3 separate regions of the Homo sapiens genome follow, and regions 1 and 2 are each linked to region 3. The links are contacts of gene promoters, found by promoter capture Hi-C in human tissues and cell types (Jung and others, 2019). All regions are on one chromosome and are shown on one strand. The core of a region is centred on a gene start or on the middle of the fragment in contact, and the rest is flanking DNA. Distances in the headings are between cores, read along the strand shown.

What was found. The method cuts DNA at HindIII sites, captures the fragments that hold promoters and counts their contacts. A contact is called where the count stands out against the background at its distance.
Region 1: the fragment with the promoter of SLC16A8 here is called in contact with a fragment that was not itself captured in region 3 in 1 of the 25 tissues and cell types used here (dorsolateral prefrontal cortex).
Region 2: a contact is called between the fragment with the promoter of C22orf23 here and a fragment that was not itself captured in region 3, in 1 of the 25 tissues and cell types used here (dorsolateral prefrontal cortex).

What each region holds. Positions count from the first base shown.
Region 1 is chr22:38,081,733-38,085,527 of GRCh38, reverse strand. SLC16A8 (solute carrier family 16 member 8) reads left to right here and starts at 1,344. Exons shown (of 6, transcript NM_013356.3): 1 at 1,344-1,540; 2 at 2,167-2,486; 3 at 2,647-2,868; 4 at 3,496-3,639. The coding sequence starts at 2,655. It overlaps BAIAP2L2 (BAR/IMD domain containing adaptor protein 2 like 2), which reads left to right. Exons shown (of 14, transcript NM_025045.6): 14 at 153-628. The coding sequence ends at 228. RefSeq lists an enhancer at 1,079-1,860 and a silencer at 2,836-2,885. The HindIII fragment of the contact is 9,296 bases long and covers 1-3,795 here.
Region 2 is chr22:37,952,324-37,956,466 of GRCh38, reverse strand. It overlaps C22orf23 (chromosome 22 open reading frame 23), which reads left to right and starts at 2,866. Exons shown (of 7, transcript NM_032561.5): 1 at 2,866-3,019; 2 at 3,309-3,420. The coding sequence starts at 3,318. POLR2F (RNA polymerase II, I and III subunit F) reads right to left here and starts at 2,768. Exons shown (of 5, transcript NM_021974.5): 1 at 2,660-2,768. The coding sequence starts at 2,679. RefSeq lists a silencer at 2,533-2,602. The HindIII fragment of the contact is 12,825 bases long and covers 1-4,143 here.
Region 3 is chr22:38,687,400-38,691,633 of GRCh38, reverse strand. JOSD1 (Josephin domain containing 1) reads left to right here. Exons shown (of 5, transcript NM_001360236.2): 3 at 2,210-2,338; 4 at 2,505-2,699; 5 at 3,633-4,234. The coding sequence ends at 3,732. Among named protein-coding and RNA genes, the nearest start is that of TOMM22, 7.6 kb to the right of the region's middle. The HindIII fragment of the contact is 8,429 bases long and covers 1-4,234 here.

The DNA.
Region 1 (3,795 bases), core at 95-2,594, 600 kb after region 3:
AGAAAAAAAAAGATGAAGCGGGGCAAGGAGTGGATGGAGACCAAATAGGGGCAGGAGGCAGGACCCAGCTCAGTTGCCCAGCTGCCTTCCTGAGCCATGGCCAGGTGGGGATCATCTGCCCTTCTCACCCCATTCTCTCTCTCCTCCTACAGGGGCACAAATCCTTTTGCCACTGTCAAGCTTCGTCCCACCATCACCAATGACCGCTCAGCACCCCTCATCCGCTGAGGCGGGGTCCGAGGTCGTACCCCACAGTGCACCTGCCCAGGGGCTGTTCAGAGCTGGCAATGGCAGCGACAGCAGCAACAGCAGCAGATCCAAGAAGCGGGTCCCTGAGACGGGGGGTGGCTGCCCTCCCCAGACCACCCCGGCAGCCTGAGCAGCTCCAAAGCACTGGCTTGGGGTCCGAGACCTTCAAAGTAAAGCAGGCGGAATGGGGGGACAGGACAATTTCTCCCCCTCCAGGGGCTCCAGGACTCTCCCTGGGGGGCCCACCTCTTGCCCCCTAACCTCTTTCCCCCTTTTCTGCCCCCGTGGGGAGGAGCCCCTTGTACCTGCTCCGTGCCCAACACATGCCCTCTCTGTACATCTTTTGTAAATGATGAGAAATAAAGGAAGTGGACGCAAAGTGATGCGGCAGCAGGACTGGTGGTGTCTTATTTGGGGGACAGGGCAGGGGGTGAGGGATAGAGACTCCCCCATTGGAGAATGGGGTCTAGGGGGTACTGAGGTCCTGGCTGTTCCCCGGGAAGCCATCTCACTCCCAGCCCCTTGTTTGTTTGTTTGGAGAACTCTTTAGGGCTGCCCCAAAGCCCTCGCGCTGCAGCCCCCATCTCCACCTGCTCTCATTTCGACCTGTGGGTTTCCTAGGAAGTAGCGGCTGCTCGGGTCAGGGGAGAGGTGGCAGTGGCCAAGGGCTGGGACCACCAGCAAGCTGCCCTCAGGCGGCCTGGACACAGCACCCTTTGTTTTGGCCCCTCCCCCCCCCACATTCCCAGGCACAGGCGTGGATTAGCTTCATTCTAGAGAAAGCTGCCAGCCCCTCCTGGAATGTGGCCTGGGGCGGGGGGTTGGGGCGGGGGCAGATGAGGCACTGAGGTGATTAGAACCGTTGGGGTCTCTTCAGGGCAGGGCTGTGCCCCCAGCACCAGACTAGGACCCCCTGGGCAAGGTCTCTGTGTCTACCACCCCAGGCTCCAGGAGGCACAGGGATTCTCTTCCTCCCTCCTGGACTGGCTTGGGACAGGGAGCCCACCGCCGAGGCCCAGCCTGGCCTGGGGCTCCCAGTCTCTTCTCCCCTCCTGGACAAAAGCCTCTTAGCAGGGGTGAGGTGTGGTGGGGGCACACACTCTAAGCTCCAGGCCTGGGGCAGGGAGCGTCAGGCGGGAGTCGGCCAGAGGCTCAGCCCAGGCTGGTGGGAAGCTGGGGTGTCTGGCAGCCCCCATCCGGGTAAGCTTCACCGGGAGCTGCGGCGGCGGCCCCTCCCTGCAGGCCTCAGGAGATGTGAGGCTGGACCCCCAAACCCACGAGGCAGGCTCAGGTGAGTGTGATGTGAGGGCTGCCTGGGATCACCCTCCTGTCTCCACCTTCAAGTGGCTGCCCCTGTGACAAGAGGACAACAGGCAGGAAAAGCCACAACCTGGTCCTAGTGGAGGAGGGGCAGAGTCCCGGATACCCTGGGGGTGGTGGCACTGCCCAGTGCCAGGAGGGACACTCCAGGCAGGAGGGCAGGAGGCTATCCCCAGCCCCCGGCTCCTGGTGCACCTGTCTCTGAGTACACCCTCCTCATCTGTTATGGGGGCGCTTGTAACTGCTGTGAGGGCCCCGGGTGGAGCCCCAGGAATGAGACAGGCTTTGGAGCCATTCTTTTCATATAGAGGGTTTGAGGTTTGGAGGGCAGAAGGCCACTCTCTCAGTGCTGCTAAGGTTCCTACCTGTCTGGCAGAAGCCAGAGACCTGACTCCTCTCCCGCAAGATTCCCAGCTGGCCTCGGGGTGATCAATCACCCATCTTACATCGGAGGAAAGGGAGGTTGGGAGAGGGGAGGCGACCGGCCCAAGTCAGGGAGGGAATCCATGGCTGAGCTGAGATGCATGGGAACTCAGCTCCCCTGGCTGATATCTGTTGAAAGTGGCTTTTGTCCCCTTAATGTTCTAATGACAATAGTCATTTGTGATCACTGAGAAACATTAGGAACATGGCGGAAGGCTAAAGAGGAAAATCACGCACAGCGGCCCTTTGCAGCCGGCATCTGCCCCTCTGCTGTTTGTTCTGTTGTCCCGAGACCCTCACGCGTACGGGGCGACTTTGGTGCTGGACGCCCACCTCCAGGCACATACCTGCTCCACTTCCCGACGCCTTCCACCTGAGGCCCTGAGGGGCCAGCAGTTGTCCTTCAGAGGGAGCCTGCAGAGGTGCAGAGTCAGGTGGGACCCGTCGTCCTCCCCTCGTCCTTCAGCGCCCTTTGCAGGAGAAGGAGACTTGGGGTGAGAGTCCTACCTCCGTTTCCCCTTTTGGTTCCCAGACCTGAGCCACCCTCACGTGGGTAGCCCTGTGCCTCAGTTTCCCCATGCTTCGTCTCCATCCCCCTCCTTCTCTAGGCTGCTGGCCCAGCCCCTCCCTCTTGTCCCCGCCCCCTCCCAACAGAGGCAGCGATGGGCGCTGGCGGCCCCCGGCGGGGCGAGGGCCCCCCAGACGGCGGCTGGGGCTGGGTGGTGCTGGGCGCCTGCTTTGTGGTCACCGGCTTCGCCTACGGCTTCCCCAAAGCCGTGAGCGTCTTCTTCCGCGCGCTCATGCGCGACTTCGACGCCGGCTACAGCGACACGGCCTGGGTGTCCTCCATCATGCTAGCCATGCTCTACGGCACGGGTCAGTGTCCCCGCCCGGCCCTCCGCCTCCCCGGGACCCCTGGGATCCGGAACCAGGAGACACCCGAGCCCCTGAGCATCCCCCTGACCCTCGGGGTGGCCCCCGAAGTCCCTTCCTGCCTGTGGGAACCCTGGCACCAGAAAGAGGGGAAGAGAGGGCGGGAGGGAGACAGCGGCCAGAGGCGGGGCCGGCCCAGGGGGCTGCCCTGCGAGCTCAGAGGGCCCCTTCTAAGACCACACCCGCCCATTGTAGAGGCAGGAAAGCTGAGAGCCACAGAAGCACTCCCCCTCCCCGCAGCCCTGACCTGTAGGTGGGGGCTTGCTGGAGTTCCCATCCTGGGAGGCGGGGCTGCGGAGGAATCCCAGTCTGTGCCAGGGCGGGACTTGGAGGCTGTGAAGGTTAAAGGGGTGCGGAAGCCCCCGCTCCGCTTGGGGTTTGGGTTCGCAGGATGGGGTGCTCTGGGCCTTGCCCTCGCAGGATGCTGTCTCTTTGGCCTGTCCCCTCCAAGCTGTGTGACCTTGGCCAGACACTGCCCTCCTCTCTGTGTCCCTGAGCCGGAGGTGACCTTATTCCTTAGAGGACTCAAGCCATCCCGGGACCCGGGTGGTGACCCTGCCCTGCCCACAGGCCCCGTGTCCAGCATCCTCGTGACCCGCTTTGGCTGTCGCCCGGTGATGCTGGCGGGTGGGCTGCTGGCTTCCGCGGGCATGATCCTAGCTTCCTTTGCCACGCGCCTCCTGGAGCTCTACCTGACCGCTGGGGTGCTCACAGGTGAGGGCCCCCTGGTCTCCTCTCCGCTGGGTTGGGGGTCGGGGGTTCTTGCTGCAAGATCTGTCCTCGGTTTCCCTATGAGGGACAGTCTTCGAAGTCCCTCGGCTGGGTTCCCGGATCTGCTGGGTTCCCGGGCCTGGCCCCTCCCTCCTGTGG
Region 2 (4,143 bases), core at 1,617-4,116, 740 kb after region 3:
CCAGCATGGGTGACAGAACAAGAACCTGTCTCAAAATAAATAAGAAAAATTAAAAAAAAAAAAAATTCAGAGGCCGGGCATGGTGGCTTTGTATTGTGGCTCTGGGATTAAGCCTGTAATCCCAGCACTTTGGGAGGCCAAGGCGGGTGGAGTTCAAGGCCAGCCTGACCAACATGATGAAACCCCGTCTCTACTAAAAATACAAAATTAGCCGGGAGTGGTGGTGGCACATGCCTGTAATCCCAACTACTTGGGAGGCTGAGGCAGGAGAATCACTTGAACCCAGGAGGCGGAGGTTGTGGTGAGCTGAGATCACGCCATTGCACTCCAGCCTGGGCAACAAGAGTGAAACTCCGTCTCAAAACCCCCCCCCGCCACCGCAAAACAAAAAACAAACAAAAAAAAAATCAAAGAGGGCAGAGATCTGTGTCTCGCCCAGTATGTAGGAAGCACTCAATAAATATTTACTTAATAAGTAAATCAGCTGAGTGCAGTGGCTCACGTCTGTAATCCCAGCACTTTGAGAGGCCGAGGTGGGTGCATCACTTGAGGTCAGGAGTCCAAGACCAGCCTGGCCAACATGGAGAAATCTCGTCTCTGCTAAAAATACAAAAAAATTAGCCGGGTGTGGTGGTGGGCGCCTGTAATCCCAGCTACTCAGGAGGCTGAGGCACAAGAATTGCTTGAACCCGAGAGGCGGAGGGTGCACTGAGCCACGGTCACCCCACTGCACTCCAGCCTGGGTGACACAGCGAGACTCCTTCTCAAAAAATAAAAAATAATAATAAGAAGAAGAAGTAAATCCGACTTTTGTTCCATTTTACCCCTTCAATTTTTCCCCATCTGCCCCCAAATATTGCTAGTACTCATTCATCATCACTGTTTCCCTCTCTACTGGATCATTCCCATCAGCATTTTTTTTTTTTTTGAGACAAAGTCTCGCTCTGTTGTCCAGGATGGAGTGCAATGGCGTGATCTTGGCTCACTGCAACCTCTGCCTCCTGGGTTCAAGCAATTCTCCTGTCTCAGCCTCCCGAGTAGCTGGGATTATAGGCACACGCCACCATGCCCAGCTAATTTTTGTATTTTTAGTAAAGATGGGGTTTCACCATGTTGACCAGGCTGGTCTCGAACTCCTGGCCTCAGGTGATCCACCCTCCTCGGCCTCCCAAAGTGCTGGGATTAGAGGTGTAAGCCACAGCACCCGGCCCCATCAGCATTTCAACATGTGCTTTTCCTCATCTAAAAAAAAAAAAAAAAAAACCCTTATTTCTCTTCTCTCTCCCCCTATAGCCCTAATTCCATGGTGTCCTTTGAAGCAAAAATGTGTGAAAGAGCTGTCCACCCTCACTATCTTCCTCTCTTCCCATTTTGTCATAATCTCACTCCAAAAAGCCTTTCACCCCAACAGCTCCATCAAAACCACTTTCCAAGCTCATTAATGATCTCCACGTTGCTAAATCCAATGGCCAACTCTCCTTCTCATTTAGCCTGATCTATCAGCTGGCACATTAGGCCACTTGCTCTCCTCACTTGACTCCAAGGACACCTCACCCTCTTGGTGTTCCCCCACCTCCCCGGCTTCTCTTTTCCCCCAAGCACTCAATGTCCAAATGCCCTAATGCTCAGCCACGGGTCATCTCCTCTTCTCTACTGACACTCACTGGGAATGGGGTAGCAATCCCACACGTTTCTTATTTTTATCTTCAGACTAGCTCTCTTTGCACCCACATATCCCACAGGTAATTTTTGGGCTCTATCTTTAAAATAGTAATATATCCAGAATTCAAAACCAGTTCTCACCACCTCTACTCCTACCACCCTACTATAAGCTACTGACTTCTCTCATCTAGATTACTACAAGCAGGCCGGGCACGGTGGCTCACGCCTGTGATCCCAGCACTTTGGGAGGCCGAGGCGGGTGGATCACAAGCTCAGGAGTTCGAGGCCAGTCTGGCCAACATGGTGAAACCCGTCTCTACTAAAACTACAAGCAATTAGCAAGGCGTGGTGGTGCACGCCCATAATCCCAGCTAGTCGGGAGGCTGAGGCAGGAGAATCCCTTGAACCCCGGAGGTGGAGGCTGCAGTGAGCCGAGATCGCGCCACTGCACTCCAGCCTGGGCGACAGAGCAAGACTCTGTTTCAAAAAAAAAAAAAAATTACTGCAAAGGACCGTCCCAGACTTTTATTTAATGCCACCCGGTGGAGCTGCCCCAGACCCTCCTCTGGAGTACTCCTATACTACATACGTCTAGAACTGGGGAAGCTCACGCGACCACCGTTACCTGCTTGCTTGCTTACTTATGGGCCTGTGACCCCTTTTCTAGAAAGTGAGCACGTGGAGAGGCAGGGACGATTGTTCATTCACCTCAATATTCCCACTGCATGATACAGAGCCCGGCTCGCTGGAACATTTGCTGAAGGACACCTTTTCTACGGATCCCCTCTGGACCCTCGAGCCTGGGCCCTCCTGTGCCTCCAGCCGGGGCTGTGCTCCTGGGTCGCCCGCCCTTCCCTTCCTCGGCTCCGCCGGCCCCCTCAGGACCCCAGTCCCCTCAGACATTGCCCCTAGACGCCAGGCTCCTCAGCCGACCCAAGCCTTGCCTCATCCGCCCCTTCCAAGGTTGCCGCAAAGGCCACTCCGCTCCCGCACTCACTTGTCCTCGTTGTCTGACATGACACCCTCGCCTCAGCGACCCCGCTGCGCCCCGGTCCCGCGCGGAGACCCGCAAACAGCGACACTACGACTCGCGCGGCTCCTAGCTTATCTTGCGCCTGCGCCGTAACCCAGAGGAAATCACTTCCGGGAGGCAGGACAGAGCGGGGAAAGTGCGCATGCGCTGACTGGTGTGTGCGCGTTTCTATAGTAGCGAGAGGCGCTAGCTGCCAGCTCCAGCAGCCCAGATCGCGCAGTATTTCTGCGTGGCACCGGTGCGGATGCGGCTGTAAAGCAGTGGTCACCGCCTCCGGGAGCCCACTTCTATGTGGAGAGGGGAGCACCCAGAGAGGGTCTTAGGGTGAAATTTCAATTTTGGCATATCACTCAGTGGGTACTGTTGTGACCATGGCTGTGTTAACACTCCCTCCCGAGGAGACTTCCCTGCCACAGGCGCTGGGTCAGAATGAGGACTGTGTGTGTGTATCTGTGTGTCTGGATGGGAGGTTTGGGCACTGTCGCAATATTAACTGGCGGCATCATTCTCTGGCTCGATCCCCGCTTCCAGACTTCTGGGGGTGTTGGGCGTCGGGGAACAGAGATTAGGGACAGGAGACAGGGGGTGTGTCATTGCGTCTTTCCCTCCTCAGAGTCCTCCCATGGCTTCACAGAAGCAGATGGAGGTAGTGACCAAAGGAACTGGGTTCCGGCGCCGCCCCAAGACCATCACTTACACCCCGGGGACCTGCGAGCTGCTCAGAGGTCAGTCCGTTAAAGCAGCGATCCCAGCCTTTTTGGCACCAGGGACCGGTTTCGTGGAAGACAATTTTTCCACTGACGGAGGTGTGGGGAATGGTTTCGGGATGAAACTGTTCCACCTCAGATCATCAGGTATTAGTTAGATTCTCATAAGGAGCGTGCAACCTAGATCCCTCGCGTGCGCAGTTCACAATAGGGTTCGCGCTCCTATGAGAATCTAAGGCCGTCACTGACCTGAAAGGAGGCGGTGAGGCTCGCTAGCCTGCCGCTCACCTCCTGCTGTGCGGCCCGGTTCCTAACAGGCCAGGGACTGGTACCAGTCCACGGACGGAGGGTTGGGGACCCCTGAGTTAAAGGATGAGAGAAGAATGGTGGTAGTTACCCTCTGTAACTCAGTTCCCCCGTACCTGACCTGTGGCTTAGCACTATTTTCCTTTACAGATAAGGAGCCTGGGGTTCAGAAAGCTTCAAAATTCTACTGCATATGCCTTATTCGGGGGCGGGGCGGGGCGGGGGGGAGGGGAAGGTTCAAGGTGCTACACCTTGCCAAAAGTCAAAGAACTAAAATTTTTAGAGTAGTTAACTCCTATGCATCCTTTAGATCACACTTTCAACTTTCCCGAGGAAGACTTCTGCTCCTCACCACCACAGTAGGATCAACTGTTATGTGCCCTCACACATTTTCCTTCACTGGGCTTAGCACAAGCTGTAGTCAGTTATTTGGTG
Region 3 (4,234 bases), core at 1,265-3,764:
AATAAGGAACTACAGAAAGAACATTCTAGACAGCGGGAACAGTGAGTGCATGAGTGCACAGTGAGAAAAAGAGCTTTGTTTTTAGGGAACAGTAAGAAGGTCAGTGTAATAAAAGGTAAGAGATGAGATCTGCAGGACCTTGAGGGCCTTGCATGCCAAAGGAAGTAGTTTAGAGTGTATTTAAGTGCTTTAGGTGCCATCAGAAGGTTTTAAGCAGTGGCAGGAGTATGTTTGTTGTTTTTAATTCTGTGGGTTTTTTTTTTTTTTCTTTTTTTTTGAGACAGGGTCTTACTCTATCACCCAGGCTGGAGTGCAGTCATGGCTCACCACAGCCTTGACTTCCCTGGCTCAGGTGATCTTCCCACCTCAGCCTCCCGAGTAGCTGGGACCATAGGCACATGCCACCATGCCCGCCTAATTTTTGTATTTTTTGCAGAGACAGTGTTTTGCCATGTTGCCCAAGCTGGTCTCTAACTCCCAGGCTCAAGCGATACTCCCACCTTGGCCTCCCAAAGTGCTGGGATTGCAGGTGTGAGCCACCACTCCCGGCCAGGAGCATGGGGTTTTGTTTTGTTTTGTTTGTTGGTTTGTTTTTTGAGACGGAGTCTCACTCTGTCACCCAGGCTGGATGCAGTGGTGACATCCAGCCTCTGCCTCCTATGTTCGGCTCACTGCAGCCTCTGCCTCCTACGTTCAAGCAGTTAGCTGCCTCAGTCTCCTGAGTAGTTGAGACTACAGGCGTGCACCACCACGCCTGGCTAATTTTTGTATTTTTAGTAGAGACGGGGTTTCACCATGTTACCCAGGCTGGTCTTGAACTCCTGACCTCAAGTGATCTGCCCACCTCAGCCTCCCAGAGTGCCGGAATTACAAGCATGAGCCACCGCGCCTGGCCAGGAGTATGTTTTATATTTGAAAAATACCAGTATTGCTGAGTTCAGTGGCTCACACCTGTAATCCCAGCACTTTGGGAGGCTGAGGCGGGTGGATCACAAGGTTAGGAGTTCGAGACCAACCAGCCTGGCCAACGTAGTGAAACCCCATCTCAACTAAAAATACAAAAATTAGGTGGGCGTGGTGGCGGGTGCCTGTAATCCCAGCTACTTGGGAGGCTAAGGCAAGAGAATCACTTGAACGCAGGAGACGGAGGTTGCAGTGGGCTGAGATCGCGCCATCACACTCCAGCCTGGGCGACAGAGCAAGACTCCGACTCAAAAAAAAAAGAAAGAAAAAAAATACCAGTATTTCTGCTGTGCACAGAAAAATTTTAAAAATACAAGATTTCTTAAGTTTTTTAGAGTTGACATCCTTGGCCTAACGTCTTGATTCTTTTCTGGAGATGGCATGTAGTAGCCTCTTGATCATGCACTTTATGTCCTGAGGAACTCGCCACACTTCCCTTTCTCCCCTTCACACGAAGCCCAAAGGTATGCCCCTTGAACCCTTCCTTCAAAATGGCCTTTCCCCAGCTCCTGGCCTGACAAGTTTATGAAGGTAAAATAATAGAATTAGAAATGCCTTCAGCATGGACCTTGTCTTAAAATACAGACTGGCTAAAGAAACCTGGAAGTAAATGGCTTCAAGCTGGGTGGGCAAACCAGTGCTGCAGCTGAGTTTTGTTTGCCTGGCACAAATTTTTTTTCAGTTGATTTATTGGGTATTTTAAGAAAAATTTATTCAAGTACTACACACACACACACACACACACACACACACACACAGAATGCCTTTAGGTGGGTCGTGCATTCCAGTAGGCCTCACTACTTTTTATTGCCTTATATCCAACCCCAGTTTATACATTTATGTCACCTGTCTAGGCTCCTGTATGCCTTTGAGTATTTAATGATTAATGATTACCAAGTTTGCAGGCCTTAACTAGAAAGCAGGAGTGACACCAGTTACTATCCATGCAAATGAAAAGATTGAATCCTATTTTCCAATGTTAAAAAAAAAAAAGGCTTGCATGAGGCAGGAAAATCAGTATCAGGAGGAAGAGCAGAAAGGCTGCAGGAGGCTGGGATTTCATAAGTGAGTCACCTTCATGGAACACTTACAAAATACTTAGGTAGAAGCTGGGGAAATTGCACTTGAATGTGGGGAAACTAACTTCCAGGGGCAGTGATGTAAAGTGCTCTCCATCCCTGGTAGTGCGGGGTCAGGGGGTTCAGGCATCCAGCAAGTCTCAGCCCTCCTCTTTTCACATTGGTAGGTTGTCTCCAAACACCATGGTGACACCTCACAAGAAGAGCATGCTGGGAAATGGCAACTACGATGTGAATGTCATTATGGCAGCACTTCAGACCAAAGGCTATGAAGCTGTTTGGTGGGACAAGCGCAGGTAATCTGAATCAGGCTTGACTTGATGGAGAACAGCACGGTTGTGGTATAAGCTTTTAGTACTTGGGCTCATGGCATGAGTGGGGAGGTAGCCAGTTGTGGTATTACAGCCAGGGAACCTTGGAAAATGGGCTGCATCAGAGCCTGCCACCATTTCTCCCCTGCAGGGATGTCGGTGTCATTGCCCTCACTAACGTCATGGGCTTCATCATGAATCTGCCCTCCAGCCTATGCTGGGGTCCACTGAAACTGCCCCTCAAAAGGCAGCACTGGATCTGTGTTCGAGAGGTGGGAGGGGCCTACTACAACCTCGACTCCAAACTCAAGATGCCCGAGTGGATTGGAGGCGAGAGCGAGCTCAGGTAATCGGCACCTTTTGTGACTAAGTTGCTAGGCTGCTTCATTTCTTAGGTTGGGGACACTGAGCTCATCTCTGGTTATTTGACAAAGGAAATGAAATTCCTGTGCCCTTGGATTCTCTCCCTGCCTTAGAATCATAGTGTCTCGGACCTGACCTTAATCTTCAATGGCGCATCAGTACTTTTAAGTCCTTTTGGTAGGGAAGATGCCCAGCCTGGGATACCAGCCTTCTAGTCTGGTGGGGCTGGCATTGTAACGTTCTCTCTATTTAAGACAACTGAGACAGTGTAGTTGCCAGTTCATAGAAAGGAAGACAAACATGCAGGCCAGGGAGCACTGAATTTCCCCAGGACCAAAGAACATTTGTAAAAGTTCTTTAGAGGCGATTGCTCACGCCTGTAATCTCAGCACTTTGGGAGGCCAAGGCGGGTGGATCACCTGAGGTCAGGAGTTCGAGACCAGCCTGACCAACACGGTGAAACTCTGTCTCTACTAAAAATACAAAAATTAGCCAGGCGTGGTGGCGGACGCCTGTAATCCCAGCTGGTCAGGAGGCTGAGGCAGGAGAATCACTTGAACCTGGGAGGCAGAGGTTGCAGTGAGCCGAGATCATGCCATTGCACTCCAGCCCAGGCGACAAGAGCGAAACTCCGTCTCCAAACAAACCAAGAAAAAGTCCTTTATATACTTTGGGTACTGTTATTCACAGATCCAGCTACTCTTGGCAGTAACTACAAGGATGAGCAAAATTCAGGTTGGAATTTTAACTGGACAGATTGGAGGGTAACCAAATGTGGAACCCTCCAAAACCAGATGACTACAGGGATGTGTTTTGGACTGCCGAGGGTAGAGTGAGGTTTCAGGTGACTTTGTGGTCCTGAGACTGGAATTTGCAACTTGCCAGCATTTCATTTTCTCTATCTCTTTTTCCATAGGAAGTTTCTAAAACATCATTTGCGAGGAAAGAACTGTGAACTCCTGCTGGTGGTACCAGAAGAGGTAGAGGCTCATCAGAGTTGGAGGACCGATGTGTAACAGTTCTGCCCAACCTCCCTCTCGCCTCAGCCCCTTCAGTCCTCTGTGACGTGCTGTGGCCTCTACAGTGGGTCTGCCCTTGCCACTTCCCCAAACATCTCATCAAGTTTTTCCCCTTCAGATCTGACAGTGCAATAGGACAGACGTGTGGACTGTTATAAGAACTACTCAGTGTTTTGTTCCTGGGCAAGGAAGGTAGGAGTTCTGTGCACTTAAGGCCAGTGGTCACAAACCCTTGTTTTATTTAAGAGACAGAGGAGAAAGTGGAGCGGGGAGGGAATCCTAGCTTATTTTCCCTTTTCTATGAGGACTTGACACAGGTTCTGCTGAGTTGTCACTGCTGCTCCAGACTCACCTAGAGATGCTGCCTCCACTTTCCATCCTGTCTGGGTCTGAAAACAGTGGGTCTGCAGATAGTGCCCACAAACCCCATGTGACTGGTTTGAAGGACCCAGAGCATAAAGGTCTCTCAGGAAACCATGTCCAAAACCCTAGCAGCGGT